Regions from separate parts of the Homo sapiens genome. Here region 1 is linked to region 2. The links are contacts of gene promoters, found by promoter capture Hi-C in human tissues and cell types (Jung and others, 2019). All regions are on one chromosome and are shown on one strand. The core of a region is centred on a gene start or on the middle of the fragment in contact, and the rest is flanking DNA. Distances in the headings are between cores, read along the strand shown. Region 1 holds the start of RAB2B (RAB2B, member RAS oncogene family). Region 2 holds the start of PNP (purine nucleoside phosphorylase).

The links. Contacts are between HindIII fragments. The study calls those that stand out against the background at their distance.
Region 1: the fragment with the promoter of RAB2B here is called in contact with the fragment with the promoter of PNP in region 2 in 1 of the 25 tissues and cell types used here (stomach).

The regions. Positions count from the first base shown.
Region 1 is chr14:21,475,326-21,478,777 of GRCh38, forward strand. RAB2B (RAB2B, member RAS oncogene family) reads right to left here and starts at 1,634. Exons shown (of 8, transcript NM_032846.4): 1 at 1,502-1,634; 2 at 1,203-1,274. The coding sequence starts at 1,547. TOX4 (TOX high mobility group box family member 4) reads left to right here and starts at 1,870. Exons shown (of 9, transcript NM_014828.4): 1 at 1,870-1,959; 2 at 2,171-2,239. The coding sequence starts at 1,954. RefSeq lists enhancers at 1,051-1,170, 1,751-1,820. The HindIII fragment of the contact is 11,571 bases long and covers 1-3,452 here.
Region 2 is chr14:20,467,977-20,471,082 of GRCh38, forward strand. It overlaps PNP (purine nucleoside phosphorylase), which reads left to right and starts at 1,430. Exons shown (of 6, transcript NM_000270.4): 1 at 1,430-1,559. The coding sequence starts at 1,549. RefSeq lists enhancers at 1,197-1,701, 1,892-1,961, 1,992-2,121 and a silencer at 1,362-1,481. The HindIII fragment of the contact is 8,414 bases long and covers 1-3,031 here.

The sequences.
Region 1 (3,452 bases), core at 384-2,883, 1.0 Mb after region 2:
TCAGTCACTCTTTAGTCTCTACTTAAAACAATATTTATTTTTTTGCAATTCCAGATGTTTTTCTTTAAGAAAAGAGCCTAAGAAATAGGTTCTCAGAAACAATACTTTTTTTTTTTTTTTTTTGAGATGGAGTCTCGCTCCGTCACCCAGGCTGGAGTGCAGTGGTGCGATCTCAGCTCACTGCAGCCTCCACCTCCTGAGTTCAAGTGATTCTCCTGCCTCAGCCTCCCAAGTAAGTACCTTACAGGCACACGCCACAACGCCCACCTAATTTTTTTAACAATACATTTTACATTTCCAATAATTGCCAGAGGCACAATTAAGCATTGTTGCCTTGTTAAGCATTGTATCATTAGCCCCTATCGCAAAGTGAGAATTCGCTCAATATTCCCTTTAAAATACCTTTTAGTTGATACTGCCAAATCCTTTTCTAACCCCATCAATTATTTGACTCTAAATAAATCCGTTAGGAACAGTGGTAGCTTCAGGTTTCCATACAGGTGGGACTTGGAAGTAGCAATATGGTAAGAATGGGGATGTAGGGGTTTATTTAGAAACTGCATTTGCATGGCAAGAAAGCTAGTTTCATATATGTTGTTTATTTGGACTGGGGTTACGGAGATAACGAAGAGGGGGTAGTTAAAAGCCTCTTCAGGCCATGCCTTATCACAAACGTGTGGGAAAGGTTAATATTTTCCAGGATCGCCAGTGCGTTTGAGGAACTGTTAACACACTCTTTCATTTAAAAGGAAAGTTTTTAGTTTTATTTGCCTATTAATTCTAAGGCAGGGATGACTCCTCAATTTGCTTCTTCACCAATATAAAAAATGTCCATGTATTGGTGTTTACTTTTTAAAAGTAAGGCTGGTATTAATTTACCTCAAAGCACAGATGAGTTCATAAATAAGCAGTTATGCTTTCGTGGGATTTTCCATAAACATACAAATTGTATTTGAAAAAAAATTATATGACGAGTCTATACCTCACACTCTAAAAAGTTACCTTTCAATTATATACTCTCCCTTACACTACTCCCCACATATCAACGTTTCATTGGTCACTTCATTAACATAAGTTTGGACTAGTTTAAAGTAGTGAGGGGTAACTTTTTACTTCGAACACTGAAGGCTGCTAACTTTCCACTTTAGCAATTTAGCTAGTCAGGTTTTATCATCTGTTCTGGAACAAGTAGATGCACTTACCTATTGTGAGGTCGTGGACAGGCTGGAACCGCTTATCTGTAAACTGCAGGAGGAGACATGACTTCCCCACACCTGAAAGAGAAAGCACACTCCCGGAATCACGCAGCCCTGGAACACCTTCCAGAGTATGGACTTCCCGGACCAGAGAAGGGGGGCTCCCGAGCCCCGCCCCCGGCCGCCCCGAACCGCCCCGCCCGTCTCGAATCGCCCAGCCCACAAAGTGAGCCCCGCCCCCGCCACCCAATTTGGGAGCTTCGAATGCCCGCCCGAGCCTTGAAGGCGAACCACCTGAGGGTTACCTGTGTCTCCGATGATGATATACTTGAAGAGATAAGCATAAGTCATGGTGTCGCGTCCTCTGGGTTCCGGGTCCGCCCGACTTCTATAGCCACTTACCTCCGACCTCTCTAGCCACTCAATCTACCGATCTTCTTCTTCTCCCCCTTCCCCCCGCTCCCCCGCCCCTCCGGCTCCTCTAGCCCAGATCACGTCTCTATTGCACTCCCCGGAATCATCCTTAGGTCGGGAGTACCCTACGCCACCTCCAGGGACGCTTCTAGCACTTCTACATGCCCTTATCCCTCCAAACTCCAGGGGGCGATAGCCCAGCGCCTGACTCTCTGCAGCCCCACGGCGCTCCTTCCAATCAGCAGAGAGAACACACGTCCTTGCGGAAGTGACGGCAGTTCCGAGTCCAGTGGGGGCGGTGGGAGCGATGAGGGTCTGAGACGGTGGGAGCGGTTGTGTGAAGATGGAGGTAGGAACCTGATAGCTAAGAAGGCTGGCGAGAGAACGCGGCCGACCGGGTTGAAGCAGGGACGGGAAGCCGGGCGGAGAGGCGACTGACGGGAGAGGAGAGAGAGCGGGGTTTGGGGAGTGTTGTCAGAATGTCAGGGTCAAAAGCCATCGCTCCAAGCTGACTCCCTGCTCCCCCTAACTTATCCCCGCGACTTTCTTTTGGTTTCCAGTTTCCCGGAGGAAATGACAATTACCTGACGATCACAGGGCCTTCGCACCCCTTCCTGTCAGGGGCCGAGGTGAGCCAGAGCTGCCGACGCCGCGGGGGTAGGGCCTGAGGCAGCGGTGGGGTAGGGTAGTGGGGAGGAGAGCACGGACTCCGGGGACGGGGGCTGGGAACCAAGGGCCGCAATTGGTGTTTAGAGAAAAGTGGCGGTTGCTTCTAGAGCCTGTGGGGACTATCTGGGGAAGTCTTGGGAAGTTGCTGTCATCAGAAAGCAAGGTATTGGAAAGAGATAACCTGTTTAAAGAGAAAAGGGATTCTGGATTAGAAGACAGAGTGGAATTGTCTCCTTTCTCTGGGGAGAAATAGCTACAGTAATCTTAGGGGATCGCAGTGGAAAGAAAATGTTTCAGCAGCTGAAGAAATTGGGGTTGAGGGGAGGAGCTTATTGGTTTTCTTTTGTTTTGAGACAGAGTCTCGCTTTATCGCCCAGGTTGAAGTGCAGTGGTGCGATCTCGGCTCACTGCAACCTCTGTCTCCTGGGTTCAAGCGATTCTCCTGCCTCAGCCTCCCGAGTAGCTGGGATTACAGGCGTGCGCCACCACGCTCGGCTAATTTTTGTATATTTAGTAGAGATGGCAGTTTCACCATATTGGCCAGGCTGGTTTCGAACTCCTGACCTCAGGTGATCCACCCACCTCGGCCTCCCGGAGTGCTGGGATTACAGGCCTGAGCCATTGCGCCCGGCCTAAATTTCCTACTTTGATAAAAAATTTGTGGTTACCTTTACCTACATGGTGTCAGCTTGTTTTGCTAATGTCAGGAGGAAAGGAAATAGCTGCTAGAGAATATAAAAGAGTTGAGTAGGACATGTGTTTCAATTTGCCAGTGACTCAGACGTTGGGCACATTACTTCATCTTTGTATGTCACAGTTTCCCCAGCTGTCAAACAGCTGTAATTATAGTTTCTTATGCTGTTTTAAAGTAGAAGTAAAGGTTATGATGAAACCCTGAAGTGTTCGTTAAAAAAGTTTGGTTGAAATATTGTCATAATATAGATATGTATCACTTGTTTGGGAGAGGCAAAAGAGAATGGTGGAACAGACAAAAATTTCTGTCTTTGAGAAACTGAAGTCTTGAACCATCTGCCATTTTTTGAGGACTTTTATATTTATTTTCAAAAGTGGTGTGGACCATTTGCATCAGTTTTTTTTACCAAGAATTGTCAGTGGCTGTTGCATGGGCTTATCCTATAATCCTAACGTTTTCATGGATGAAAATGGGGTTGA
Region 2 (3,106 bases), core at 180-2,679:
AAACCCTGTCTCAAAAATATATATATATATAAAGACAACATATCTTTACAAAAGATGGTTTTAGAAGGTCCCTCTGATAAAAATTAAGTATTAAGTAAAAAAAAAAAGTACTGTGTAAAAATCAGCATGGAACAGAAAATGAGGGTGGCAGCATTGGATTCCTGCATGTGAGAAGTTGAGTAGTGCCAAACAGATGTACATATCCCGTAAGTAACTGTTTGTGGTTATTTAAGAACGAAATTTTTTTTTCAATTTGTGTGCATTGTTATTTTCAAAGTGCTAGTAAGTTCTCAGGAACCAGCTACTCACTCTGTTGCCCAGGCTGGAGTGCAATGGTGTGATCTCAGGTCACTGCAACCTCCACCTCCCGGGTTCAAGCCATTCTCCCTGCCTCAGCCTCCCAAGTAGCTGGGATTACAGGCGCCTGCCACCACGCCCAGCTAATTTTTTGTATTTTTAGTACAGATGGGGTTTTGCCTTGTTGGCCAGGCTGGTCTCCGACACCTGACCTCAGGTGATCCACCCACCTCGGCCTCCCAAAGTGCTGGGATTACCGGCGTGAGCCACCGCGCCTGGCCTTTATATATAAATTTTTTTTTAATTTTTTAAATTAAAAATTAAATGTAAATTTAATGTAAAAATGTAAATTAAATGTAAAAATTAAATTGTAAATGTGGGCAGAAGTAATAGTTGTATTCTACCAAAGACACGCTATTTATGTTATATTCTGGTACCCGTGTATTCCGATAACAGAATTTTCTTCGTGGGAGGAGTCCTCTAGTTACCTGAATTGCTTGGATCAATATTGCGCAGATCAAGGGATTATCTGTGTCCCTACCCACCAAATCCATCCTTATCCTTTCTGTCGGCATCTAGGACCCCGGAATTCTTGCCTGAGAACTTTTTCTTCTCCCGGTCTGGGCCTGGATGTGCTCTCCTAAACCCTGTATCCTCCAAGTTAGCACTGTTGCCGGGGGCGACCCAGCTTCCCTTGTCCAGGGAGCAACTCAGACACAGTCTCGCTTCATTTTTATTCTGGGGTTGTACAATCTAAGGTATGAAATTTTTCCTTTTTGAATCTCTCACGGTTTGCTATTGACACAGCTGGAATGAGGTTGCAAGGAGAGGGCTGGGGGCTCTCCTCCCTACTTCTAGCCCTATTTCCGCATAGGCCTTCTTGCTGGGAACTCCTGCCCTGCGGACTGGAATGGGTACCGAGATGAAATGCTGGGTGCGCTCCGGCTCCCCCCGCCCGCCCCGGGGCAGAAGGTTTAGGGCTGGGAAGAACTCTGATTAGGTTTACAGCCCAGGTTCAGCCGATTGAATTAGGGTGTGTCACCATGGAGACAGGGCCGGCCCGCGTGCTCGCTTGCCATTGGCTGGGGACTCCAGGGCAAGGGATATAAGCCAGAGCCTAGACCAGTGAGCCAACTGTGCGAACCAGACCCGGCAGCCTTGCTCAGTTCAGCATAGCGGAGCGGATCCGATCGGATCGGAGCGGATCGGAGCACACCGGAGCAGGCTCATCGAGAAGGCGTCTGCGAGACCATGGAGAACGGGTGAGGAGGGCACCAGGCCCGCAGGACCCTTGGGGAGGGGCAGGTGCTGTGACCCGGGAACCTGGCACACTGGGCCCAGAGGGAGCTGGCGGAGGGAGCGAGCGCCCAGGGGATGCAGAGAGGCCTGGCACTGAGCCTAGTGTCGGGAGCAAGGCGGCAGAGTCATGCGGCAGCCAGCGCGGGCAGGGACGCACGCGGGAATCGAGCTGGGGTGGCGCCACCGGAGCAGGAAGGGGACAGGTCGGTGCGGTCTAAGCTACTCCGTAAAAGCAGCCGTTGTGTGTCTCCGTGTGTGTGTTAGGGGAACAAGTGGAGAGTGAGTATATGTATATATCCCTCACTCCATACCAGGAGGAGGTCTCCTCACCCCCTGCGCTCTTCATAAATTCCCATGCTAGGGTCTGGGTAAAGCTGCGAGGTACTTTTGGTGCTCAAATTCGGAGTTCCTCCTTTAGAGGCAAGATTACTCACCTCCTTTGCCAGTTGCACTCCTCCCTTCCTTCCAGACTGGCAGTATGATTAACTCGGTGGGAAGTGACTGCTAAGTGGAGACGGAAATCAGTCACCGAACTGAGCAACAGTCCTGTGCTCACTTCCCCCACCCCACGCCTTTGAAAACTCTTCTCTCGGCTTGGGTCCTGGATATCCCAGTCCAAGTGACCTGCATTAGGCATCACAGTTGCTTTTGGATGCCCAGGGAGCCAGGGTGTTCTTGAGGGGACTGATAGCCAATGAGGAAGTGCTGTGAGATGTGGCTAGACATGCCATGTGGCGGCAGCTTCACACATTCATTTCCTTTGCACCTTTTGGGGATGCCATTTGATTAACATTTTACCAGCTTAATTGCTTCTCTCCATTGTCCTGTGGCTCCGTTGACCAGCCCCCAACCTACCTGATCCAACTGCTTCCCTGAGGGTAGCCTGGTGTATTGTGCAATCATGTCTGGTTTCCCGGGCTCTGCTTTCCAAGTAAAAAATTTCCTGTGAAAGCTTGGTTAGTTGTGTTCAGCTCTGTCACACCTCATTGCCACCTCTGAAAGCAACGTTTGGTCTTCCCAGATGGATGTGAGAGAACTGGACTTGGAACTGGGAGAAAAGTAACACGGGTTGATTCTTGCTAGTGTAGGGGTTCTGGGTAAGTGCCCTGAGGTTTCTGAAGAGCAAAGATCCTCGGTGGAGAGAAAGGAAACTGGGAGGAGGCAGGGAGGGGGAAGGACAGGAAGAAGACCACAGGCAGGTGGAAAGCAGGAGAAAGATTCAAATACTTTGTGTAACAGAGCCATAGGTCTTTGGAAGTTGTTAGCAAGTATTCAATTCATTTTCAGATTGAGCCTATAAGATAGATGGGGCCAATTTACATCCCTTGTTTATACCTGAGAAAATAATTTAAAGCACAAATTACATGCCTAAAAAGACAATATTGGGACTAGAATCTAGGTCGAATTCTGCTTCCCTCCAGACCAGCAATTCCTAAACCTGGTTTTATTTTATTTTATTTTTATTTATTTATTTTGGAGTCGGAGTCTCGCTCTGTCTCCCAGGCTGGAG